4 separate regions of the Homo sapiens genome follow, and regions 2, 3 and 4 are each linked to region 1. The links are contacts of gene promoters, found by promoter capture Hi-C in human tissues and cell types (Jung and others, 2019). All regions are on one chromosome and are shown on one strand. The core of a region is centred on a gene start or on the middle of the fragment in contact, and the rest is flanking DNA. Distances in the headings are between cores, read along the strand shown.

Evidence for each region. The method cuts DNA at HindIII sites, captures the fragments that hold promoters and counts their contacts. A contact is called where the count stands out against the background at its distance.
Region 2: a contact is called between the fragment with the promoter of PLIN5 here and the fragment with the promoter of EBI3 in region 1, in 1 of the 25 tissues and cell types used here (dorsolateral prefrontal cortex).
Region 3: a contact is called between the fragment with the promoter of PLIN4 here and the fragment with the promoter of EBI3 in region 1, in 2 of the 25 tissues and cell types used here (heart right ventricle and pancreas).
Region 4: the fragment with the promoter of DAPK3 here is called in contact with the fragment with the promoter of EBI3 in region 1 in 3 of the 25 tissues and cell types used here (dorsolateral prefrontal cortex, psoas muscle and small bowel).

What each region holds. Positions count from the first base shown.
Region 1 is chr19:4,228,041-4,231,224 of GRCh38, forward strand. It overlaps EBI3 (Epstein-Barr virus induced 3), which reads left to right and starts at 1,483. Exons shown (of 5, transcript NM_005755.3): 1 at 1,483-1,577; 2 at 3,151-3,184. The coding sequence starts at 1,511. RefSeq lists enhancers at 1,703-1,792, 2,756-3,184. The HindIII fragment of the contact is 27,598 bases long and covers 1-3,184 here.
Region 2 is chr19:4,533,974-4,537,157 of GRCh38, forward strand. PLIN5 (perilipin 5) reads right to left here and starts at 1,251. Exons shown (of 8, transcript NM_001013706.3): 1 at 1,192-1,251; 2 at 42-122. The coding sequence starts at 101. It overlaps LRG1 (leucine rich alpha-2-glycoprotein 1), which reads right to left. Exons shown (of 2, transcript NM_052972.3): 2 at 2,429-3,184. RefSeq lists an enhancer at 402-957. The HindIII fragment of the contact is 58,476 bases long and covers 1-3,184 here.
Region 3 is chr19:4,517,027-4,520,210 of GRCh38, forward strand. PLIN4 (perilipin 4) reads right to left here and starts at 1,460. Exons shown (of 8, transcript NM_001367868.2): 1 at 1,359-1,460; 2 at 1,196-1,263; 3 at 528-672. The coding sequence starts at 1,246. The HindIII fragment of the contact is 33,356 bases long and covers 1-3,184 here.
Region 4 is chr19:3,969,500-3,972,683 of GRCh38, forward strand. It overlaps DAPK3 (death associated protein kinase 3), which reads right to left and starts at 1,600. Exons shown (of 9, transcript NM_001348.3): 1 at 1,422-1,600; 2 at 175-330. The coding sequence starts at 236. RefSeq lists enhancers at 22-651, 652-1,283 and silencers at 172-466, 1,455-1,584. The HindIII fragment of the contact is 13,824 bases long and covers 1-3,184 here.

The DNA of each region.
Region 1 (3,184 bases), core at 233-2,732:
TCTCTGTCTCTCTCATTCCCCTGTCTCTCTCTGTCTCTATCATCTCCCTATCTATCTCTGTGTCCTCCTCCTCTCATCTCTGTCTCTCTCTGTGTTTCTGTCTCTGTCATCCCCCTTTCTCTGTCTCTGTCATCTCCCTGTCTCTCTATCTCTGTGTCCTCCTCCTCTCGTCTCTGTCTCTCTGCCTCTCTCATCTGTATCTCTCTCTGTCTCTGTCATCTCCCTGTCTCTGTCTCTCTCTATCTCTGTGTCCTCCTCTCATTTGTCTCTCTGCCTCTCTCATCTGTATCTCTGTCACTTTCTCTGTCATCTCCCTGTCTCTCTATCCCTCTATCTCTGTGTCCTCCTCTCATCTGTCTCTCTGCCTCTCTCATCTGTAGCTCTCTCTGTCTCTGTCATCTCCCTGTCTCTCTATCCCTCTATCTCTGTGTCCTCCTCTCATCTGTCTCTCTGACTCTCTCATCTTTGTCTCTGTCTCTGTCTCTGTCATCTCCCTGTCTATCTCCGTGTCCTCCTCCTCTCATCTCTGCCTTTCTCATCTCTGTGTCTCTCTCTGTGTTTCTGTCTCTGTCATGCCCCTTTCTCTGTCTGTCATCTCCCTGTCTCTATCTATCTCTGTGTCCTCCTCCTCTCATCTCTGTCTCTCTCATCTGTATCTCTCTCTGTCTCTGTCGTCTCCCTGTCTCTCTATCTCTTTGTCCTCTTCCTCTTGTCTTTCTCTCTGCCTCTCTCATCTGTGTCTCTCTCTGTCTCTGTCTCTGTCATCTCCCTGTCTCTGTCTCTCTCTCTCTGTGTCCTCCTCCTCTCGTCTCTTTCTCTCTGCCTCTTTCATCTGTGTCTCTGTGTCTCTCTGTCATCTCCCTGTCTATCTCTGTGTCCTCCTCCTCTCGTCTCTGTCTCTCTGCCTCTTTCATCTGTGTCTCTCTGTCTCTGTCTCTGTCATCTCCCTGTCTCTGTATCCCTCTATCTCTGTGTCCTCCTCTTCTTGTCTCTGTCTCTCTGCCTCTCTCATCTGTGTCTCTCTCTGTGTCTCTGTCTCTGTCATCTCCCTGTCTCTCTGTGTCTTCCTTCTGTCTTCTCTGTCTCTCTGCCTCTCTCCCCCATCTCTGCCTCTGTCTCCCTCCATGTCCCTGAGCCCCTGCCTGCCTGCCTGGGGTTTCCCCCGCTTCAGGGCAGCGGAAGGAAGGCCAGCAGGACATGCTGTGCTGGGAAAAGCCAGCAGGTCTCCACTTCTCCCTTTCACAGCCTCCTCCCCCGCCCCCACCCTCGGGGCCTTCCGAGCAGGGGTGGCCTGTGCTCCCCAGGGGGCTGGGGCTCCTCCACACCCTAATTCATCTCCCTAGCGGCCCCACGAGCCCCACCAGTGAGTCAGACCTGAAGGAAGTCGGGGAGGGGGCGGGCCTTGACCCTGGGCTGGGCTTTCCCCTGGGCAGGTCCCAAGTCCTCACCTCCCCTCTCAAGTCTCCCACGACGTTCCCACCCACTCCTGAGAGCAGAGCTGGCCGCAGCCATGACCCCGCAGCTTCTCCTGGCCCTTGTCCTCTGGGCCAGCTGCCCGCCCTGCAGTGGAAGGAAAGGTATGTGGGGCCCCTGGGGGACTGGGGGGCCCAGGCAGACGGACATGACACGAGGACTGGCCTCGGATCATGTCTGGGGTGGGAAATCACATCCTCCCGTGCCCAATGGTGGGATGGGGTTACCCTCCCATTGTACAGATGGAGGAACTGAGGCACAGAGAGGCAGAGTGCCACATTGGGGGTGGAAGGATGTCACCTTGTGGGTGATAGGGACTGGCAGTCACAGCTCAGAGGTATCCATAGAGCTACACAGACATAGCTACACAGACATGCGAATTTGAGTCACACTCATTCCTTTGGTTTCTTTTTGGTTTTGTTTTTTGAGACAGAGTCTCACTCTGTCGCCCAGGCTGGAGTACAGTGGCACCATCTCAGCTCACTGAAACCTCCATCTCCTGGGTTCAAGCGAGATTCTCCTCCCTCAGCCTCCCGAGTAGTTGGGATTACAGGTGCCCGCCACCATGCCCGGCTACTTTTTATATTTTTAGTAGAGATAGGGTTTTACCATGTTGGCCAGGGTGGTCTTGAACTCCTGACCTCAGGTGATCCACCCACCTCGGGCTCCCAAAGTGCTGGGATGACAGATGTGAGCCACCGCGCCCGGCCGACATTCATTCATTTTGCACTAGAGAACATCTCCATGTCCTTGAAGACAAAATGGTTACAGCAGGGCATGGTGGCTCATGCCTGTAATTCCAGCACTTTGGGAGGCCAGGGCGTGAGGATCGTGAGGCCAGGAATTCGAGACCAGCCTGGGCAACATAGTGAAACCGGACCCCACCAATCTGTACAAAAAATTAAAAAATTAGCTAGATGTGGTGGCACGTGCCTGTAGTCCCAGCTACTTGGGAGGCTGAGGTGGGAGGATAATTTGAGCCCAGGAATTGGAGGCTGCAGTGAGCTATGATTGTGCCACTGCATTCCAGCCTAGGTGACAGAGTGGGATACCTTGTCTCAAAATAATAATAATAATAATAATTTATAGGCTGGGTTTGGTGGCTCACGCCTGTAATTCCAGCACTTTGGGAGGCCAAGGCAGGTGGATCACCTGAGGTCAGGAGTTTGAGACCAGCCTGGCCAACATGGTGAAACTCCCTCTCTACTAAAAATACAAAAATTAGCCAAGCGTGGCAGTACATGCCTGTAATCCCAGCTACTCGGGAGGCTAAGAATCGCTTGAACCCGGGAGGCGGGGGTGGCAGTGAGCCGAGATCTCGCCACTGCACTCCAGCCTAGGCGACAGAGGGAGACTCCCTCTTTAAAAAAAAAAAACAATTACAAAAGAGAGAACACGGTAAAATCTCTCTCTCTTACCCGAGTTCCTCTCTGTAGATGCTTAAACCTCAGCTTCCCTATCTGGAAAATGGGCTAGTAGTCCTCACCTAGATGGATTGCAGTGGGGATAAAAGATGACAGATGACTTTTGTCCATGTACCTATTTATTCCGAAAGCCTTTATTAGGCACCTACCATGTACCTGGTGCTGGCTGGCAACGTGGCAGGAGCCCAGCGCACGGGAGGGCTATGACAATCTGGGGGTAAACCAGAAGCTCACTCTTTCTGTCTTCCTCCAGGGCCCCCAGCAGCTCTGACACTGCCCCGGGTGCA
Region 2 (3,184 bases), core at 1-2,500, 310 kb after region 1:
AATACCTTCTGTCCCTGCTCCATGGGAGGGGCAGCCCTCACCTGCTGGTCCTGCTCCCACACACTGGATCTGGGGATCTGAGCCGCCTCTTCTTCAGACATCGTGCTGCAAACAGGGTCACCCTGCGGGGCAGGATTGAGTAAGGGGAGCACCTGCCCAGGCATCAGATCCTGTCAAATTGGGCTCTGTGACTTGAGCAACTCTCAAACCTCTTGGGGCCTCAGTTTCTTCATCTGCATAATGGGGCATTCTGTGGAGCTCAGACAATGCATGTCCAGAGCTCTGTACACAGAGGGTGTCCAATAATGAGCCTCTGGCAAGGTAGGGTTGCCGGAGTGACTCGAAGCATGGTCTCTGAGGTGAGAAAGACCTGGGTTCAAATGCTACCATTAATTGCGGTGTTATTTTTATTATTTTTTTAAAGACAGAATCTCTCTCGCCCAGGCTGGAGAGCAGTGGCGCCATCCCAGCTCACTGCAATTTCCGCCTCCCAGGTTCAAGTGATTCTCCTGCTTCAGCCTCCCAGTTAGCTGGGATTACCCACGTGCCACCATGCTCGGCTAATTTTTGTATTTTTAGTAGAAACCGGGTTTCGCCATGTTGCCCAGGCTGGTCTCAAACTCCTGGGCTCAAGTGATCTGCCCACCTCGGCCTCCCAAAGTGCTGGGATTACAGGCATGAGACACTGCACCTGGCCAGCTGTGTGATTTTTGGCAAGCACCTTCACCTCTCTGGGCTGCTTCCTGTTTTGTAAGATGTGGGAGGTCCCTGCTACCCCTGCGGCCCCTGCCTGGGCCCAGAACTGCCCAAGCACCCTAGACGGCTGGAGGTGGTAGCTGCTGGGTCCCAGTCCACTCACAGCTCATTTGACAGACAGGGCAACTGAGGTACGCAGCAGGTCCATGCTGGTCCCAAGGTCACGCAGCCAGCTAGAGTTACAGGGGGGGAGCTCGACCTCGGGCCTCAGACCTGCCGCCTGCGATCCCTCCGGTTGCCACCCCGCGTCCTCTGAGGCCTGGTCCTCGCCCAACTGGGTCCTGAGCTGGGGCCAACCGGGCCAAGGGTCCCAGCCACCTGCTCTGGCCGGTCATACCCGTCCCACGCCGCCGGACCTTCGCCCAACCACCCTATCTGGAGCTCCTCTCCTAAGCCCGGGGGGGCGCTCCCGGACGCCGCCCTCAGGGCACTCACCTGGGCGCGAGCGGCTTCAGACACCAGCTGTCTCCGCCGACCCCAGGCTCGAGTCTCCACACCCCCGCCGGTCCCGCCCGCCCTTCTTATAGCTGCTCGCGCAGTGGGGGCCTCCGGAACTGACCAATGGGGAGAGGCCGTGCGGGGGCGTGCCCAGGGGGCGTGGCTCCAGGCTTCCCTCGCCCTCTCCTTGAGCTGGCCCAGTGCCCTACGGTTGCCATAGTAATTCGGGAGCGCTAGATTCAAAAGATTGAGCTATTATACGTTCCCGGACCAAGTTTGGCCACCTGTCATCCTCACTGCTGTTGCCATAGAGACAGTCCATGCGATCACAGCCCCCATAGCCCTGCTGAGTGACCTTGGCCAACTCGCTGATGACTTTTCTTATTAATTATTATTATTTATCGATTTTTGAGACTGGGTCTTGCTCGGTTGCCCAGGGCTAGAGTGCAGTGGTGTGATCATAGCTCACTGCAGCCTTGCCCTCCCAGGCTGAGGTGATCCTCCCGCCTCAGTCTCCTAAGTAGCTGGGACCACAGGCACACACCACCACCCCCAGCTAACTTTTTAAACTTTTTGTAGAGACGAGATGTCCCTGTGTTGACCAGGCTTGTCTTCAACCCCTGAGCCCCAAGTGATCCTTCCACCTCAGCCTTCCAAATTGCTGGGATTACAGGTGTGAGCCATTGCACCCAGCCTCTTTTTATTTCTTAATCTGCCCCTTAACTAAGCCAGAAGCCAGGCCTTCCCTTTCCCTAGGATCCCCATTTCACAGATGAGCAAGCTGAGGCTCAGAGATCATAAAACACTTGCCCCGCATACCACAGCAAGTGAGGGATCCTATTCCTTTTTTTTCTTTTTTTTTTTTTGAGACAGAGTCTGACTCTGTCGCCCAGGCTGGAGTGCAGTGGCGCGATCTTGACACACTGCAACCTCCGCCCCCTGGGTTCAAGTGATTCTCCTGCCTCGGCCTCCGGAGTAGCTGGGATTACAGGCGCCTGCCACCACACCTAGCTAATTTTTGTATTTTTAGTAGAGACGGGGTGTCACCATATTCGTCAGGCTGGTCTTGGACTCCTGACCTCGTGATTTGCCTGCCTTGGCCTCCCAAAGTACTAGGATTACAGGCATGAGCCACCGTGCCCGGCCAGGGATCCTATTCAAACCCAGCCCTGCTGGACCTCAGAACCCTGCCTTTTCATTGCCTTGCCTGGAATGACCACAGATGTAGGCATGGTCTTTTTATTTTTATTTTTATTTTTGAGACACAGTTTCACTCTGTCGCCCAGCCTGGAGTGCAGTGGCGTGATCTTGGCTCACTGCAACCTCCGCCTCCCAGGTTCAAGTGATTCTCCTGCCTGACCCTCCCAAGTAGCTGGTATTACAGGCACGTGCCACTGTGCCTGGCTAATTTTTGTATTTTTAGTAGAGACAGGGTTTTGCCATGTTGGCCAGTCTGGTCTCGAACTCCTGACCTCCGGTGATCTGCCTGCCTCAGCCTCCCAAAGTGTTTGGATTACAGGCATGAGCCACGGCGCCAGGCTGCATGGTCATTTTTTAGGGAGCTGGGAAAACTGGACATGCCCCCAAGCCCCAGGGTCTTCCAAATCCGATTGCAGCCCCCACATGGCCAATGCTGTATCAGCAGGTGGGCCCGGGACCCTGCTCATCCCTTCAGCCCCATCCTGCCCCTGCAACCTTGCCCGGGGGCAGGTGCCCCCTTCGATGATCTCAGGTCAGCATGACAAATCGTTTGGAGACCTGGGCAATCTGGTTTAACTTAAACCTTCTCCTAGGACACAAGCCCTGGCAGAAATCCACTGGTAAAATGACACCCGGGCAACAGTCAAGGTTTTATTTCCAGTTAGGTCCCAGGATGGGGGAAGGGAGAGGAGAAGTCACAGGCCATTGATCCCAACTGTCATCCCCTAGGGAGACCATATCCCACACCCCAGGGCCTGGGCCATGCCTCTTTTCCTCCTTCACCCTGGAG
Region 3 (3,184 bases), core at 210-2,709, 290 kb after region 1:
TATTGCCAGGCCAAGGCATGTGGAGCAGAAGTCAGCTGCCTGGGGCTCTGGGCCCAGAGGGAGGCCCAGCTCAGGCGGCTGCCCCAACCCTGGGTTCCCTGTCACCGTCCCTGATCGCCCAAGCTGAGCCACAGGAGGCTGGGGAGCCCCTGGGCTGTGTGACCCCAGGGGAGCTGTTGCTCCTCCCTGGGAGTCTGGATCTCACTCTGATGAGCTCAGATGGGCAGAGCACCCAGCCTGGGCCATGGTGCATCAGAAACGGAGTGCAGGGTGGGGGAACGGCCGAGGGACTGAGTGGGGGGGCATTGCAGGGAGACAGGCTGGGTTGAAAGCCACCTTCGGCCACTCACCCCCCATATTTATGCCTCAGTTTCCCCATCCACCACAAGATGTCCTAGTGTCTGATGAGAGCACACAGACAAATATGGAGGACTCCCCAAATGGCTGGAAGTCCCTGCCCGGGGAGCTCCTTCTCCCAGGTCCATGTGTAGAGTCCCCCCACGCCCCCAGCTGGGCCAGCCACTCACCCTGAGCCTGTGGTTGGGCAGCCTCGGCAGCAGGCGCTCCTGTGGGGTCAGCGGCCGGCCGGGCTCTCGCCGAGCTATGTGCGTTGGCCACCAGGTTCCGGGCAGAGCTGAAGCCAGGCAGGGACCCAAAGAAGCTGCCCAGGGTCTGCATGGGGGCGGGGGGTGTGCAGGATGAGCAGGCCAAGCCTCGGCAGGAACGGGTCAGAGGAAGCATCGATTGATCAGCCCAATGCCGCCCCGGCCCCTTGCTCCTGGGTGACCTCAGGAAAGTGTTTCAGCCACTCAGCCTCAATTTCCACACCTGGGCAATGGGCAGACTCAGCCTGCCTCCCATGCACAGAGGAAAAGATCGTCTACCCGATCTCCAAAGACCTTTTCCTTCCAGGATCCCCACTGCACAGATGGGGAAACTGAGGCTCAGAGAGGGGCGGAGCTGAGGCCGGCCCAAGGTCACTTGCTGGGGAAGGTGTCGAGGTCTGCGTGGGTCCCCCGCCTCCAGCTTGGGTCAGAAAGGAAGGGATTGGCATCATGGCTCCCAGACCGCCCCCACCAGCCCACCAGGGAAGCACCTCTCCAGATTCGAGACCCCAGGACTGTGGAGGTCACCTTCCCCGGCTCTGGGGCATCTCCAGGCCCCAGCAAGAATCTGCCCCATTTCCCCTCTTTACCTTGCCCTTCGGTTTGGGGGGATCCCGTCTCCCTTCGTCTGGAGCAGACATAGTGAGAACGTGAGAAGCTGGAAGGGGGCAGAGAAGGTGCGTGAATGGGGGTTCCCTAGCCTCCCATCCCACACCCACTCCCCACTGAAAGCCTGAGCAGCCCGACACCCACCTGCAGGCCTGGCCTCACCCTGGTGTCACCGAAGCAGACGCGGCCCCGCTCACCTGGACTGCGCGGGGTCCCCTGGAGGACGGACCGGCCCGGCTGGCAGCTGGCTCTACCCTCAGCTCCCTGGCCTTATAGGGTCCGGGGCAGGCGCAGGCCCAGCCAGCAGCGGCAGGCGGCCAATGGGCCCGGGGGAGGTGGCCTGGACGGTCACATGGCTACCTGCCCAGCCCAGCATGGGCCCAGGCCCAGCACCTTTCCCCTGTTTCCTGCCCACAGCTTGCATCAGGCTGAGTGGCTCACAGGCCAGATGGGCTCCCCTCCCGGGCCCCTGAGCCTCCAGTTCCATCCACGAGGTGGGTGTAGTTCAAATCTCTGCTGCACCAGGATGCCTTGGCCAGTTACCATCTTTTTGCTTCAGGTTTCTCTCTCGTACTCCGCACCACGTCCCGTAACATCCAGCTTCTTCTCTGCTCTCATCTCCCCCAGCTTCCTCCTTCGCTTGCTTCATCCCAGCCACACAGGCCTCCTCGCTATGCCTCCAGCGCACCTGGCACGGTCCTGCCTTAGGGCCTCTGCACGGGCTGTGCCCTCTGCCTGGAACACCTTCCCTGCAGGTTCCCACAGGGCACCCTCTTCCGCCCACAGAACAGTGCCTGGCATACATTTGGCGCTTAATACACGTTTGGCTCAATGGAGCAACACAGAGAGTGGTTGTGAGCCTCTGTGAGATGAGGTCATGCACTGAACAAATGCTGCCTTCGCGTTACCCAGGCAGAAGCGGGGTCTCGGGGTCTCGGCAAGGAGCAGGGGGTGTCCTCAGTGTGGAGGGGAGCCCATCACTCTCCGGAAGGGACTTGGGCCAAAACGCAGACCAAGATGGAGCACCAGCCAAGCTGGGGGCACCCTAGGAGTGGAAACCCAGCCTGGGGGGCTTGGGCCAACCCAGGGAGGCTCCCTGGAGGAGGCGTCCTGTTCCAGAAGTGGTGAGGATGGGATTCAAACCCAGACCCTCCTGTTCCAGGAAGTGGTGAGGACGGGATTCAAACCCAGACCCAGGACCTTCGTGCTGAGCCCAGCCTATGTGCTGGGCTGTCTGTGGGTGGGTGGGCAGAGGAATGGCCGTAACGCCCACCCTGGGCTGTGTCCCCCTCCTACCTGCCCCTGAGACAGGGTTCCTAGCCCTGTGTTATTGGGGGTGAGAGGGCAGACCCCATGGGTGGCTCTGGGCACTGGGCTGGGAGGAGGGAGGGTACAGCCACAGGATCTGATGATTCCCAGGCCGTCTGTCTCCTTGGAGCCGACACTGTGTTTGCCAAACAGTGGGGGAACAGAAGGGGGGGTGTCCCCCAACCTCTTCTACCAGCCAGTGCTTCCCAAGGGTGGCTGGGAGAGCTCTGGGTGCCCCTCCCCTTCCCAAAGGGCAGCCACAGCCCAGTGTGTGGAGAGAAAAAATTAAAAAGTGATCATAAACATCCCAGCCAGGATCTACCCCTCCTCTGCCCAGCACCCTCCATGGCTCCCACCTTCTCCGGGGTGGGAGCCCAGGGTCAAAGCCCAAGTCCCCTTCCTGCAGCCCGGTAGGCCCTGCATAACCTGCCTCGTCTGCTCCCCACCTTCCTCTCCTTCTTCTCTTCACTCTGCTCCAGCCACACGGGCCTTTTCACTGTTCCCATAACATGCCAGGACAGAGTCCCTCAAAGACACACGTGACTGTGCCTGCTTAGCCCCGCACACCCTTCCTCAGGGCTTTCGTGTGGGTTGTTGCTTTTGCCTCCAGCACCCTTTCCCACATCCCTCACCTCCTTCCAGGTCTTTCCTCAAATATCACT
Region 4 (3,184 bases), core at 350-2,849, 260 kb before region 1:
CACAGCCGGGGCTGTCTGACTCCACGGCCCAAATTCGTTCCCCCACCGCATGATACTGACTCATTCCTTCTCAGCATACAGGATAAAGAACAGGAAAGGAGAGCTGCTGTTCAGAAAACCCCACAGCGCCTCTCTCCTATCCCTGGAGCCCAGCCGTGCGGGCAGACAGCTCACCTGCCCAGCTCCTCCCCCATCTCATAATGGTCCTCCACGTCCTCCTGCCTGAACGTGGACATGGCGGCCGGTCCGCCTTCCAGCAGCTTCCACTCCAGGGAAAGTGCAGTCACCGCAGCCTGGAGATAGGACCTCAGGAGTCCCCTAATGGCAACCCTGGAGAAGACAGGGAAAGACAGAAGTGAGGAACTGAGACACCACCCTTTTCTCCTAGATTAATGGACAGACCTGTCCAGCAAACACAAGCCTCCCACCTCTCCACTCTGAAGCTCCAAACTCGACAAAAAGAGGTGCTGTGTTTACTGGGCTGGGTCCTGTCATGTCACCTCTTAGAGCCCCATAACCACTCAAAAGTTTGGTAACAGCCCCACTGGGCCACCTTCACCCCGCAAAACTCTCTCCAGACACATAATTCTGATTTCCCCGACGCTGCCTGCGTCTTTTTTTGCCTCTCACTCCTAGACTTCTCTCAACCTGCTCAGCCAAAATCCCCCACCATTCCTGCACGTTCTCCTCAACCTCAAATCCCAGGGCTACCTTACTCCCTGGCCAATGTCTTAACGAAGTTCTCAAGTCTACTTCTTTTGTTGTTGGTGTTGTTGTTTTTTGAGAAGGAGTCTCGCTCTGTCGCCCTGGCTGGAGTGCAGTGGTGCAATCATGGCTCACTGCAGCCTGGAACTCCAAGGCTCAAGCGATCGTCCCAGGCCTCCCAAAGTGCTGCCATTCCGATCAAAATTCCCAAGTTACTACCTTAACCCCTCCTGGTCCTTGCCCTCGGCAGGTCTCTTAAGACCCTCATCGATGGAACACCCCCGCCCACCCCCAACCATCTCTGACTCCCTCCAATTCTGAATTTTCCAAGAACCGGACGACGCCTTCCACGCTCCTGAAAGCCCACTTTGCCTCCCTCCCCCGCTGACCTCCACTGTCCTCGCAAGATTAACCTCTTCCTCCACGCTCCATGTATCAAAGTCCCCCAACCGCCGTCTCCCCTACCCCCCAAAACGGGCCGCCAAAAAGGGCCCCATCTGAGTCTCCTCCACCGTCCTCTGCCCCTTCTCGCCCGCAATCTCCGCACAAGCCCCTAGGCAGACCCCAGTGGCTCCCTTTGCAGAACCTCCCCCCGCCCCCAAGGCCTTGCCCATCCCTAAGGCTCCGCTCCAGCATCCCTGGGGCCGCTACGCCCCTCGCACGCCCGGCCGAGCCCTTTCCCCGGCCCGGTCACCCAGATGGGTCCCCAAACCTACCAGCTCCTCAGATTCTCTCCCTCCCTCGTCCTCCGCGGGCCCCCGAAGCGCCGCTCTGGCCCCACCCAGCCCTCCAGCCTCGGCCCGAGCCCGCTCTTTACCCTCCGCAGCCCGGAGAATACGGCCGGCGCCGCCGCGCTGGCCACCGCCGCCGCCTCCAGAAGCCCCGCGCCCCTGCCGCCGCGACGCGCCTGCGCCGACGTCACCGCACCCGCCAGTGCCCACCCCCGGGAAACGAACCCCGCCGCCTATTGGCCGGTGCGCCCGCCGCTCGTGCCGCACCTCGACGTCCCGCCCCCAGCTGCCTTTTCGGCACCCACACCCGGATGCAGCCTCACCACTGGCTGAACACTCGCCATCCCTGATTTCATTGGCTGCAGTCGACGCTGGTCAAGCGGACGGAAAAAAGGCCGACTTCCGGTCCCTTCATCGCCCCGCCCGCCTCTCCTCTGACCCAGGTGCTGAAGCTGCGAGAAGTGAGGCTGAAGCCCTGCATCCCGCTTCCTGCCTTCCTGGAGCACCGGTTGGGCGAATGGATGGCTCACCTGTGGCCGAGCGCGCCTGGCAGCTCCTGGAGTGGACCCTGGGACTGCTTTAGTCCCTATGTGGCAGTTTCCTCCACTGAAAACTGTTACCCACATTCTAAATACTTAAAATGCAAATGAGGTCAATCTGGGGTTGTCATACACAGGGTCCCTCTTCGTCTCAAAATAGAGGGTAACAGCAAGCATTTTATTGAGACATAGTATGTGCCAACTGACAACACTGGGAGGTATCAGGTTTGTTTTTTTTTTAATTTTATTTTTTGAGACAGGGTCTCACTCTGTCACCCAGGCAGGAGTGCAGCGGCGGTATCCAGCTCACTGCAACCTCCACCTCCCGGGTTCAAACGATTCTCGTGCCTCAGCCTCCCAAGTAGCTGGGATTACAGGTGCCCATCACCACGCCCGGCTAATTTTTGTATTTTTAGTAGAGACGGGGTTTCACCATGTTGCCCAGGCTGGTCTCGAACTCCTAAGCTCAGGTGATCCGGCACCTCAGCTTTCCAAAGTGCTGAGATTACAGGCGTGAGCCATTGCGCCCGGCCTAAATTCATTTTTTATTATTATTTTGAGACGGAGTCTCGCTCTGTCACCCAGGCTGGAGTACACTGGCACAATCTCGGCTCACTGCAAGCTCCACCTCCCAGGTTCACGCCATTCTCCTGCCTCAGCCTCCCGAATAGCTGGGACTACAGGCGCCCGTCACCACGCCCAGCTAATTTTTTGTATTTATTAGTAGAGACAGGGTTTCACCGTGTTAGCCAGGATGGTCTCGATCTCCTGACCTCCTGATCCGCCCGCCTCGGCCTCCCAAAGTGCAGGAATTACAGGCATGAGCCACCTTGCCCAGCCTTTTTTTTTTTTTTTTTTTTTTTTTGAGACAGTCTCCTTCTATCGTCCAGGCTGGAACGCAGTGGTGAGATCTGGGCTCACTGCAATCTCTGCCTCCTGGGTTCAAGCGATTCTCCTGCCTCAGCCTCCCGAGTAGCTGGGACTACAGGTGCACGCCACCACTCCCAGCTGATTTTTGTATTTTTAGTAGACGCAGGGTTTCACCATGTTGGCCAGGATGGTCTCAATATCTGTGATCCGCCGGCCTCGGCCTCTCAAAGTGCTGCGATTACAGACGTGAGCCACAAGCCGGCCTTTATATTTTTTATTTACATTTTCAACGTACAATGGGTTGGCCAGGTGTGGTGGCTCACGCCCGTAATCCCAACA